Linked DNA regions of Homo sapiens: regions 1 and 2 are each linked to region 3. The links are contacts of gene promoters, found by promoter capture Hi-C in human tissues and cell types (Jung and others, 2019). All regions are on one chromosome and are shown on one strand. The core of a region is centred on a gene start or on the middle of the fragment in contact, and the rest is flanking DNA. Distances in the headings are between cores, read along the strand shown.

Region 1 (3,528 bases), core at 167-2,666, 370 kb after region 3:
GAGATCGCGCCACTGCACTCCAGCCTGGGCGACAGAGCAAGACTCTTGTCTCAAAAAATAAAAAATAAAAAAATAGGCCAGGCGTGGTGTACTTTGCGAGGCCAAGGCAGTTGGATCACCTGAGGTCAAGAGTTTGAGACCAACCTGGCCAACATGGGAAAACCCTGTCTCTACTAAAAATACAAAAATTAGCCGGGTATGGTGGCGCACGCCTGTAATCCCAGCTACTAGGGAGGGTGAGGCAGGAGAATTGCTTGAACCTGGGAGGCAGAGGTTGTAGTGAGCCGGGCTTGTGCTACTACATGCCAGCCTGGGCAACAGAGCAAGATTCCGTCTCAAAAAACAAACAAACAGAAAAAGAAAAGCTCAGCTTTCAGGCCAGCCTTCCTCATCATTCAGATCCCCTGCCCCGGCCCCGTGTACCAGGAAACCTGAGCACCACCCACCCCACCCACCCCACCCACCCCTACTGTGGGCTCTGCCATAGAGCAGCCTCTCTGAGGCCTGGCCCAGGAGCGCTGCCTGCGAGGTCCCTACTGTGCTTCCCTCTCAGGAGGGCTCACCTGGAGAGGGGCTCTCCGCCCGGGGAAGGCCTCCTTCTGCCACTTCCCTGTCTTTGGGTGAGTCCTTGCTGTCTGGGCCCCTGAGCTGGGTGTGGGAGAAGAGCTGCAAGACGAAGCCGGCGGGGAAGCTGCCGTCAGTGAAGTGTCGGACCTCGGCTGGTGCTGCGAAAGTCTCCGTGGGCGAGTCTGGCGATGGGGGCTCTGGAAGGGAGGACGGGATGGAACTGTGAGTGAAAAAGCCTCAGGAGCTGCAGGCGCCCTGCGCCCAGGCCCTGCTCCATCCTCACTGATGCGGATTTCCTCAGAGCACTGCGGCCAGAGCCCACGCCTCCCCCGGGCCTCCCCTTCACCTGGGTCAGGGTCCAGGTTTTTGGTCATAGGTCTGCCTCTTTTCTTTCTGACTGGCTCTTCCCCTGGGGGTTCCTTCCATCTCTGACCACGGGGCTTCTTATTTCCTGGCTCTGTGGCAGGGACAGCTGCAAAAAGAAAAGACCTCATACCCTTTTAAAGAGGCCATCCCCGAACCCTGCCACCCCAGGGCTCCTGAAGATACCTGCCCAGAACACAGGGCCTGTATTTCACCCTGTCCCCAAACCCCCACCTCCACCGGGGCTCACTGGCTTCTCTGTTGACTAACCAGGAAGCTCGAGGGGGCGGAGTCCCCTGGGCCGGCTCCTTTTAGGGAGGGATGGGTTATCCTCAGAGTCAAGGAGAACGACGATTTCGGCTGGCATTCTGGCAGCGTCTGGGTTGGCGTCTGGGTCTGGGTGGGCATCCTGGCCCGAGTCTGCAGGGAGCAAGAGCACAATGAGCTTCTAGTGCCCCAACAAGTCCGACTTCTCCCTTCGCCAGCCCCAGGACCAACTACCTGAGTTGGGTGGGGACGGCTGCTCAGCTCTCACGTCTTGCAAGAGGGCCACCCCTTCACTCCAGGCCTCCAGGATATTGCTCTTCTCAGAAGGGCTCAGGTCCAAGGTGTGAGGGTGCTGCTCCAAGATGTGCGAGCGAGCTGTGTCGGCCGAGGGTGCCCGGATCTCAGCGCCACACACCATGCACAGTGCCCGCCCGCTGCCTCCTGGGCTGCTGCCCACCAGGAACTCCTGCTCCCAAGACACCTGCTGCTTCGGCTCCTCACAGCCATCACTGCCTGCCTCTAGCGGGCTGGGTCTAGGCGGTGGGGTCTTCTCCTGTTGGGTCACTGCGAGGGGAGAGGGGGAGGGTGTTATCACTAAAGGTGCCCACAACCAACAACACTTAGCACGTCTCCAGACTCAGTGGTTTGAGTGGGATGGGGGAGGAGAGCATTTCTGGCCAAAGTGTTCTTCTTCCTTCCCCTGGAGCCCATGAGGCACACGCCACACTCAACACAGCCGATGTGCCCGGGATCCCACGACTCTCGCGTCTATACTTCCTCTTGATCTAGTCTTGGACCTTAGGACTAACTACACATACTTTCCCAACAGGCTGCATTCTTGCAGGTCTCCAGCCTTTGCACATCTGTCCAGACCACCCTAATTGGGCTGGGCAACATCATCCCTGCGAAGCTTTCCAGAACCCCAATCCCTGACAATAGATTTCATCCAAATCTGACTTCTACACTTTCTTGAGGATGAGGAAGGTAAATTCTTTTAATTTTTAAATTTTATTTATTTATTTTGAGACAGAGTCTCACTTTGTCACCCAGGCTGGAATGCAATGGCGTAATCTCAGCTCATTGCAGCCTTGACCTCCTGGGTTCAAGCGATCCTCCTGCTTCAGCCTCCCAAGCACCTGGGACTACAGGTGAGCGCCACCATGCCTGGCTAATAATTTTTTTTTTAAAAGATGGGGGTCTCATTTTGTCACCCAGGCTGGAGTACAGTGGTGTTATCATAGCTTACTGCTGCCTTCAACTCCTGGACTCAAGGGACCCTCCAGCCTTAGCCACCTGAGTAGCTAGGGCTACAGATAGATGCATGCTATCACACCCAGCTAATTAACAAACAAAAAAATAATTTTTAAGAGATGGGGTCTTGCTATGTTGCCCAGGCTGGTTGTGAACTCCCGGGCTCAAGCAATCCTCCTGCTTCAGCCTCCCAAAGTGCTGGGATTATAGGCATGAGCCACCATGCCCGTTCTAAAGGCCACCCCATCCCCTCAGAACTCGCCTCCCTTCTCAGTGCTCACAGAGCATTTACAGCCATGGTCCCACTCCTATTGCTGCCTGATACCTGCTCTTTGTGTACACAGACAGACCATAAGCTTTCACAGGGCATCACCCTTTCCAGTTCAGCAAAGAAGGCAGCCTTAGACCTGCATCAGCCTGGAAGCTCAGTGCTTTTACGAAGTGCCCATGATCCTTCACGGCTGCATCTCCCTCCTACCTTCCAGAGAGGATGGGACAAAATTAAAACACAGGAGGCCCTAATACCTGGGGGCTGCATGGAAGAGGTGGTATGAGAAATAGGAGCCTCGGCTTGCATGGATACAAGAGGTGGTGTCTGAAAGAGATACGAGATATGTCTTGTACCTATCTCTCATGCGACCATGGGCAGAAATGACCTCTCAGTTGCAATCAGCTTTCTTCCCTACTAGTCTTCCAAAACAGCTCTCATCCAAGTCAGCAGTGCTAAACTCTGCGGTCAGTTTCTCAACTTCATCCTCTGCCGATCACCTCTTCCATCTTGATTTTCATCACTTGCGTCTAGGGCATGACCTTCTGTTGGTTCTTCTTTTGCTTCCCTGGCCCTCTTTCTCAGTTATGTGTGCTAGTTCTTCCTCATCTCTTCTCAATATTCCCTCCCTTCCTCTGGCTTGTTGCTGAAGACCATCTCCCCTCACTAGAGCACCCCATTCCCCTTATGCATCACCTCCAACACAGCACACATCACCACCTGGCACTTGTTTTTGGGATGTTCACTGCCTGTCTCCTTACCACACCATAGCATCCATGACCACGGCCAGGTGCGGTGGCTCACGCCTGAAT
Region 2 (3,792 bases), core at 157-2,656, 280 kb after region 3:
GAACACACGTCCCCACAGCAGCTTGTGGAAGGAAATGCCCAGCTCTGGGGAGGAGGGGCAGAGGGTACAGTGTGGAGGGAGGCGGAGCCTTGTGCCGGCCCTCCAGCCTCAGCAGCCCCGGAGCAGCCCCCAGCCCCACCCACTGCAGGGCTGCGCAGCACCCCCGCCCCCTGCCCCACCGCCCAGGCCTCCAGCCCAGGGGCCTGAGGTCAGGGGAAGGCCACCTCTGGTGGTTTGCTTGGAGGGGAAGGAGGGAGGAGAGGGGAGAAGCCCACAGTGGGCCTGGCGGAGGGCCTGACGGGAGCTCCACCACTCTTGCCTGAGAGTGTTCCAGCCCTGAGCCACCCTCCCGGGAAACCCCACAGATCCAGTCTCGACTGTCCCAATGGGGCAGGGAGGAAAGGTGGCCGCTGGGATTTTTTTTTTCTTTTTTCTTTTTGGTAATAAAAAATTTCTTGGTTTAGGCGAAATACTCTGTGCAACCGCAGTACCGAGGGGGAGCCCTGCCCCCCCATCCACCCTCCCCTTCCTTTGCCTCCAGTAGGGGAGAGGAGAAGGGGGAATCTCTGGGCAGGGGTGAATGTGGGGTGCTGGAGAACAATCTCCCACCCCCCACAAACATGTAAGAGAAAACTGAGAAGGGCCAGGGAGGGGAGAAGTGCCAGCAGGGGAGACACACCAATCCATCGCTGCAGTCTCGCCCAGGTGGGGCGGCGCAGCGGCCGGCAGCCCGTCCAGCTGGCCCGCCCCCGCCGCCCCCGCTCCTGGCAGCCTGTTAAAGCTTCAGCTCGTTGGCTATTTTGGAGGCAATGTTTTTGAAGGCCATGGAGGTGCCCGATATCCGCTTAAATCGAACCCCGTTGAGAGAGAGCCGCGGCAGTTTGCACACCTCCATCTCCCACTGCACGAAGTCCTCGTGGCCCGGCGTGCCGTGCATGCACAGCAGCATGTACTTCTCATGCAGCTCGCTCTGGCAGCTGTTCGCGTCCAGCACCTTGCGGATCTCCCGCATCATCTCGTTGGGCTCCATGGAGCTCGTGGTCTTCATACTCCACGTGAAGCGGAGGGAGCGGGGCTTGGCCTCCCGAAATTCTTCCTTTTCTTTGTCGTTGCCGCCACTGCCCACCACGTGAGGTCTGTGGAGAGGGCAGAGGCGGGCGTCACGGGGGGGCTGAGGCACCCCACCCCAGGAGAGCCACCCTGGCAGACAGCCCCTGAGCCCAGAGAGGAGAGCGGGAGGGAGCAGGAGCAGCCAGGCGTGGCCCCTGGCCTGCGGGGGCGGAGGGTGGCAGTCCTCCAACCCCCATCTCTCAGGACAGCGAAGGGGAGGAGAAGCCAGCCTTGGGGTAGGCGGGGTGGGGTCAGGGAAGACACCAGTGCCCTCAACAGCACGAGCACAGACTCTCTCTCCAGAAAGAAGCCTCCGAGCACAGGGAGGTGGGATAGTCCAGGGGTAGGAATCTGTAGCCCCAACCACCCGACCCAGAACTCCGACTTCCAGAATATACCAGACCTGAGGAGAAGGGCCCGTAACTCCTGCAATTGGGTTTGGGAAGGGGAAACTCTCTGAGGAAAGGGAGGCCCCAGAGGGTAGGGACAGGGCAGAACCACGGGAGGAAGAGCCAAGTGGCAGAAGGAAGAGAGGAGCAGGAGGCTGTGGCAAGCCCGGTGGCCCGGGCAGGGCCAGTGCTGGCTCCAGCCCTCTCACCTGAGCGTCTCCACTCGGTCTTTGCTTTCAGGTTCATTCAGGTTCCTCAAAAAACAGAGCGAGGGAGAGTTTAGTGCTGGGATCTCTCGCTCCTTCCGCCGCCACAGACCCAGATGAGAGTGGGTCTGGGGAGGTGCCACCAGTGGGTGGGCAGGACCCAAGCCCAGGGCCCTCTGCCCATCACCTGGCAAGCCAACAGGGCTCTGCAGCACCTCACACTGGCGGCTCAACCATTCCTTTCCAGCAGGGAGCCCAGCACATGGGGCTTGTCCCTCCCCACATTCCCAGATCTGTGCCGGGGAGAAGGAGCCTCTGCTCTGGGGGAGGAGGGGGAGTGGCTGTGCACGCACTTCACTGAGCACACTGAGCACACGGCCCGGCACGAGGCTGCTCCCCCACAGCCAGGGCTCACGCGCTGTTCTGGGGGTTGCAGGTGTGAGTGCGTTTTTGGAGCCACACGCTAGGGTCTCAGGACTGCAGTCCTTTTGGAGGAAAGGGGCTGCAATGCTTTGAATCTCTGTAGGAGGAGGGGCCGTGGCTACGCAAGGGCCTGTCAGGAGACTCAAAGTGCCAAGGCCTGGGTCTGCATGGTAGGCACCTGGGGATGGCTTCCTGCTGCTGAGTGGAAAAGGCGGCCTCCTCCGACCTTTCCCAACTCCCCTACCTGCTGGCCTGCCAGGCCATCTGCTCATACGCAGGGAGGATGAGGGTGGGGTGGGGCAGGGCAGGGCAGACACCTTGGTTGGGTGGGTGGGGAAGAGGTCTGGCCCCGCTGAGCGGCTTCTCCAGCTCCTGGCTGGAAGATGGGTGTCTGGAGCTAGGAAACTGGGGATTGCAGAGGAGGAAGGATATGAGAGGAAGGAGGAAGAGCAGCAGCACATAGAAATAAACAGGAAGACACAACCAACACAGGGGTGCACACAAGCGCACTGCGAGCAGGGAGCCCGGCTGTGCGAGGAAGGCACCCTCCCTGCTCTCTCCAGACCCCCTGTGGGGCAGCCCCCTGCTGGGGCCCCTTGAGGCAGCAGCCAGTCATGCAGTCAACAGCTGGGTGGGAGGAGGAGGGGATAGGGAAAGCCTGAAGACCCTGTCTGGACGTTCCTCCATCAGCTGTGGCACCAATGTGCCTGCCAGGCATCCCAGTCCCAATGCAGGGCCTGAGCAGACAGCCTTGGGGAACAAGCACTCTTAACCTGGCCCTTGGTCTTCAGCTTGGTATTTGGTCCCCGAGGCCTGCAGAGAGGATGAGCATAAGGCCAGGGGTGAAAGAGCCAGGAAGGGGACTGTGAAGGGAGACCCCTGAGTAAGGGTGCAGAGATCTCCTGTTGTTTTGCTACGGCTTGGGGTAGAATGGCCGTTGCCCTAGAATGTCCCAGCTCCCCGCACTTTGGAAGAGACAGGCCATATCTGGAGAAAACAGCCTAGAGGAGAAGAGGCTTGATTTATCCAGATGCTGCTGGTGGCAGGGGTGCTGGGGCAGGGGTGCGGGTGGGTGGGGCTAGTTCTGCAGGAGCTGCCAGGAGGGGGTGCTGTGCTCCATTTGTGAGACAAAAGCTCCTAAGGTCTGGGGGAGCCAGACTGAAACCTTGGGGCCCCAGGGTCCCCGTAGTGTCTCCAAAGTCCTGCGATCCCATAGGCCACGGGGAAGAGGTCACATAGCTCTGAAGTTCAGGAAACCCAGGAGACAACAAACAAGATACCATCCCAGATGCACTTGTAACCCTGGAGCTTCCTCATAGCGCATGCACATGACAAGGGAAAGGGCAGGAAAGGATCCCAACACTTGTGACCAAAACCTGGGGTGAGAGGGAGTGGGGGTGGGGTGGGGTGGGTGAGAGGAGACAATCTTAAAGGGAGGCTTCCCTGAGACAGTCTCCCCTTACTTGAGGACAGGCGTTAACTGTGGGCCCAAGGAAGGCCCTCATTTTTAAAGCCATTTGCCCTGAGTGGGCCAATGTGGCCTCTTAGCCCTGCCTGTTTGTACTGGGGGCACGGAGGGCAGGCCTTGTGCTGATGCCCAATCAGAGGCAGTCTTCATCCCTTTAAGATGGCAGAGAGAGGAGGGCCACACAGACTTGGTTAAG
Region 3 (3,652 bases), core at 1,129-3,628:
AAAATTAGCCAGTTGTGGTGGTGTGCCCAGCTACTCAGGAGAGTGAGGCAGGAGGATCGCTTGAGGCCAGGAACTTGAGGCTGCAGTGAGCTATGATCCCACCAGGGCACTTCAGCCTGGGCCACAGAACCAGACCCTGTCTCTAAAAAAAATACAAAATAAATTTGGTAACAGAAATCGTTTCTTTTCTTTTTTTTTTTTTTTTGAGATGGAGTCTCACTCTGTCACCCAGGCTAGAGTGCAGTGGCGTGATCACAGCTCACTGCAACCTACGCCTCCCGGGTTGAAGCAATTCTCCTATCTCAGCCTCTCCAATAGCTGGGATTACAGGCCTGCGCCATGACCCGCTAATTTTTGTACTTTTAGTAGAGAGGGGGTTTCACCATGTTGGCCAGGCTGGTGTAGAACTCCTGACCTCAGGTGATTCGCCCACCTTGGCCTCCCAAAGTGCTAGGATTATAAGCGTGAGCCACTGCGCCCAGCCGAGATCCTTTTTTTTTTTTTTTTTTTTGAGACGGAGTCTCGCTCTGTGGCCCAGGCTGGAGGGAGACGGAGTCTCGCTCTATGGCCCAGGCTGGAGTGCAGTGGCGCAATCTCGGCTCACTGCAAGCTGCCCCCAGGGTTCACGTCATTCTCCTGCCTCAGCCTCCCGAGTAGCTGGGACTACAGGCTCCCGCCACCACGCCCGGCTAATTTTTCTTCTGTATTTTTAGTAGAGACGGGGTTTCACTGTGCTAGCCAGGATGGTCTCGATCTCCTGACCTCGTGATCCGCCTGCCTCGGCCTCCCAAAGTGCTGGGATTACAGGCTGAGCCACGGTGCCCGGCCCCAGATCCTTTCTTAAAGGTAAAAGAGCAACGTCTTATTCCAGAAATCTTTTCCTCACCTATACTACAGCCCATTTAACCCTAGATACAACTGAAATATTATATGGGCACAAAAAAGTTTACTAACTTCATTTCCACTCTTTTTAATACAGCAAGGAAGCTCGAGCTTTGCCTAAAGCAGCAACTGCTACAAGAGACCAAAGGCTCAGCTCTGTAGCTCACACCAAAAAAAGGATGGTAGTCACTAGTCCATCGAGATGTCTTATTTAAGGGGAGAGTGTGGGCGATCTTAGTTTTATGGCCCTGAAGTAAGAACCAGATACCAGGTATAGTTTCAGAATTGTCACCCCCAAGTGTTATGGGCCCGGAGCGAAGACAGTAGTACTCCCGAGCGGGAGGATGATTTCTCGGAGGTTGGTAGAGGTTTCTTGGAGGTTGTTTTGTCCTTTTTCTTCCGATGAATCATTACAGCTCAATGACAGCTTCAAATCGAACAAAACCTCTAGGCCTTTCATAACCGCAAGCTACTGAGGACATAACCAAGTCACTGAAAGGAAGCAGCAACCGCTTCAAACTCGGCCCCTCAAATGCTCAGTAGAGGCCCATAACTTCCAGCGGTTGATCTCTGTAAATTGTCTACAACCACCCCCGGGTCGTCAGAAACCCATCTTTCAGACCCACCTTTCGGAAGTGTTGGTCCTCGGTCACTCGACAATCACACACACAAGCATACAAAAAGAGGGGGAGGGGCCGCAATACATTTGTAAAACACTGTCAGAGATGGAATTCGTCCCAAGGACTTTTGCGGCACCCTTCCCTTTCCCGCATCAGGTAGAGTCGGTCTGTCGCTCCTCAGACCCCCGCTCAACGCTCTCCCACCCTGACCTTCTCAGATGTAGAAGAGTAACATTTGCCCCAACTGCATCCCAGGCTGCTAAGATCCTCGGCTACTCCCAGTGTATCCCCGTCCCCGCTCCCTGGATCCGTCCAAGTTCCTCGTGGCTAAGTCCCGAGCGGTTTCTCCGTCGGCCGTCTGAGATCTCCCGGAGGGCTACCTCGCGGGTGCGGACCCCGGCCCCCGGCCCACCTCCACCCCGCCCCCTGCGGCCCGCACCCTCCCCAACATGGCCCGCAGCCGCCCCCTCGGGACGCCTTCAGGGCCCGGTCGCGACCCCTCTTCCCGCCGCCGGCCGGACTCACCCAAGCTGTGGCCTCCGCCGGGCCCTCCTCGCCCAACCAGGGGGCGATGGGCGCTCCCCGCGGCCGGCCTCGCTAAAGATCCCGCTCCCGCCCGCCGCCCGCGGCCCTCACCTCCCCGCCGCCGCCCCGTCCGGCCCCAGCGCCGAGCTCCGGTCTCCTGGATCCGGCGCCCGCCCCGCCCCCCTACCGCGGCCTGGCCACCGCCGGTCCCCGAGCAGGCTCGGGGCCTCAGCCCGCCCCTCCCCCTTCACCTGCTCCATAGCGCAGCGCGGTCCGGAACCCCGTTGAATCGAATCCGTCCGCTCCGCGTTCCCAACCGCACGCGCCGCCTTCTGGAACCTACTAGAAGCTACCGGGACCCCGGCTCCCGCCCCTTCCTCGCCTGCTCACTGGTCGAGTTCTTCTAGGGGGAATGTCTGTGCTGCTCTACTATTGGCTTGAGGTCCAGCCCATCATCTCCACTTCCTTCTCATTGGACAGCGGGGAGTAATTCCCTCAACCCTGCCTCCCCCGCACCTCAGGATTGGGCGCTCCTCTATAAACCCACCCATCTCAGGCTCCACGAATGGAGGGAGGAGCGAACTTCTGCGACACGGATTGGTCTTTTGCACTGCCAATCGTAGCCGCGCTGGCCGCGCCCATTGGTTCTGATCGTTCTGGAAATTTCCACCTCTCCCATTGGGCTGCCGGACTCCATGTCGGAACCGCCTTCAGAATGAGAGCGATTCCAATTGGGCGGAGGGTTGCCAACTCTTTGCGCTGATTGGTTTAAATCGCTGCCCTTCAAAAGGCCGGGTTTCGCCCCGCCCCTGATATATGGGAGTACCGGCTGCAGTCGGGGTCTGTAGCTGTGTCGCCGGCGGCTGCGGGGCCTCTGGGTTGCTTTCCCTCTCGCTCCCGAGTGCCGCGAGTTCCAGGCGGTCCCCGGGATCGCCAGCGGCACAGGGCCCCAGCCCTTCGCCCGCGCATCGGGATGGGGGTCCTAGCCGGTGGGAGCTGCCTGTCCCTCGAGCGCCAGCTACCCGCGTTGTCCAGCGCTCCGGCCTCGGCCCGGCCCTCCTGCCTCCTGGCTGTTAGGTTCTGAATGTTCCGGAAATGCCACGTGACCGCGAGGGCGCTTGGGCTTGGGCTGGACAGGCCGGGGATCTCACCGCGGCGGGCCCGGCTGTCCCGCTTGGGCGTCCTCAGTGGAACCGCACACCCTTTCTCAGCGCGCCGGTCGTTTGGTCCTGTAGGGCCGAGGGGAATTCGTGCGGTGTTGAGCACGCGGGAAGCACTTAACGAAAGGGAGCTGCCCCTCAGCCCTCGTGAGTCCGATGTAAAGGAGTGAAGGAGACGAAGAACTGAATCAGTAGTTGACCGCCTGTGAGCTGGCGAGCTGTGCCCTGGTAGGGCCTTAAATCCCAGCCCCAGAAGTCGGAGGCAGGGCAGGCACCCCAAAGCGTGGAAGAGATGCACCTGCGGAGTGAAAATGCTGCTATTGCTTCTAGGGTCAGCCTTGGTTCCTGGAACAAAGGAGCCGCATGACTCGGGTCTGGCGATGATGTTGGGCTCTGCAGTGTCCTCATCCTTCCCCCTCTCTGGGTAATGATATCTTCCCAGGGTTTAAAGTGTGTCCTCTCTGC

The links. Contacts are between HindIII fragments. The study calls those that stand out against the background at their distance.
Region 1: a fragment that was not itself captured here is called in contact with the fragment with the promoter of STIP1 in region 3 in 2 of the 25 tissues and cell types used here (dorsolateral prefrontal cortex and thymus).
Region 2: a fragment that was not itself captured here is called in contact with the fragment with the promoter of STIP1 in region 3 in 2 of the 25 tissues and cell types used here (dorsolateral prefrontal cortex and mesendoderm cells).

What each region holds. Positions count from the first base shown.
Region 1 is chr11:63,816,038-63,819,565 of GRCh38, reverse strand. SPINDOC (spindlin interactor and repressor of chromatin binding) reads right to left here. Exons shown (of 6, transcript NM_138471.3): 2 at 1,432-1,761; 3 at 1,201-1,350; 4 at 914-1,039; 5 at 564-764. Among named protein-coding and RNA genes, the nearest start is that of SPINDOC, 4.3 kb to the right of the region's middle. The HindIII fragment of the contact is 4,226 bases long and covers 1-3,528 here.
Region 2 is chr11:63,906,221-63,910,012 of GRCh38, reverse strand. MARK2 (microtubule affinity regulating kinase 2) reads right to left here. Exons shown (of 19, transcript NM_001039469.3): 18 at 1,709-1,753; 19 at 1-1,136. The coding sequence ends at 776. Among named protein-coding and RNA genes, the nearest start is that of RCOR2, 9.0 kb to the left of the region's middle. RefSeq lists an enhancer at 1,879-2,552. The HindIII fragment of the contact is 7,074 bases long and covers 1-3,792 here.
Region 3 is chr11:64,184,897-64,188,548 of GRCh38, reverse strand. It overlaps STIP1 (stress induced phosphoprotein 1), which reads right to left and starts at 2,378. Exons shown (of 14, transcript NM_006819.3): 1 at 2,279-2,378. The coding sequence starts at 2,287. It overlaps LOC124902686 (a long non-coding RNA gene), which reads left to right and starts at 2,868. Exons shown (of 2, transcript XR_007062712.1): 1 at 2,868-3,652. RefSeq lists silencers at 2,166-2,225, 2,926-3,065 and an enhancer at 3,186-3,255. The HindIII fragment of the contact is 11,787 bases long and covers 1-3,652 here.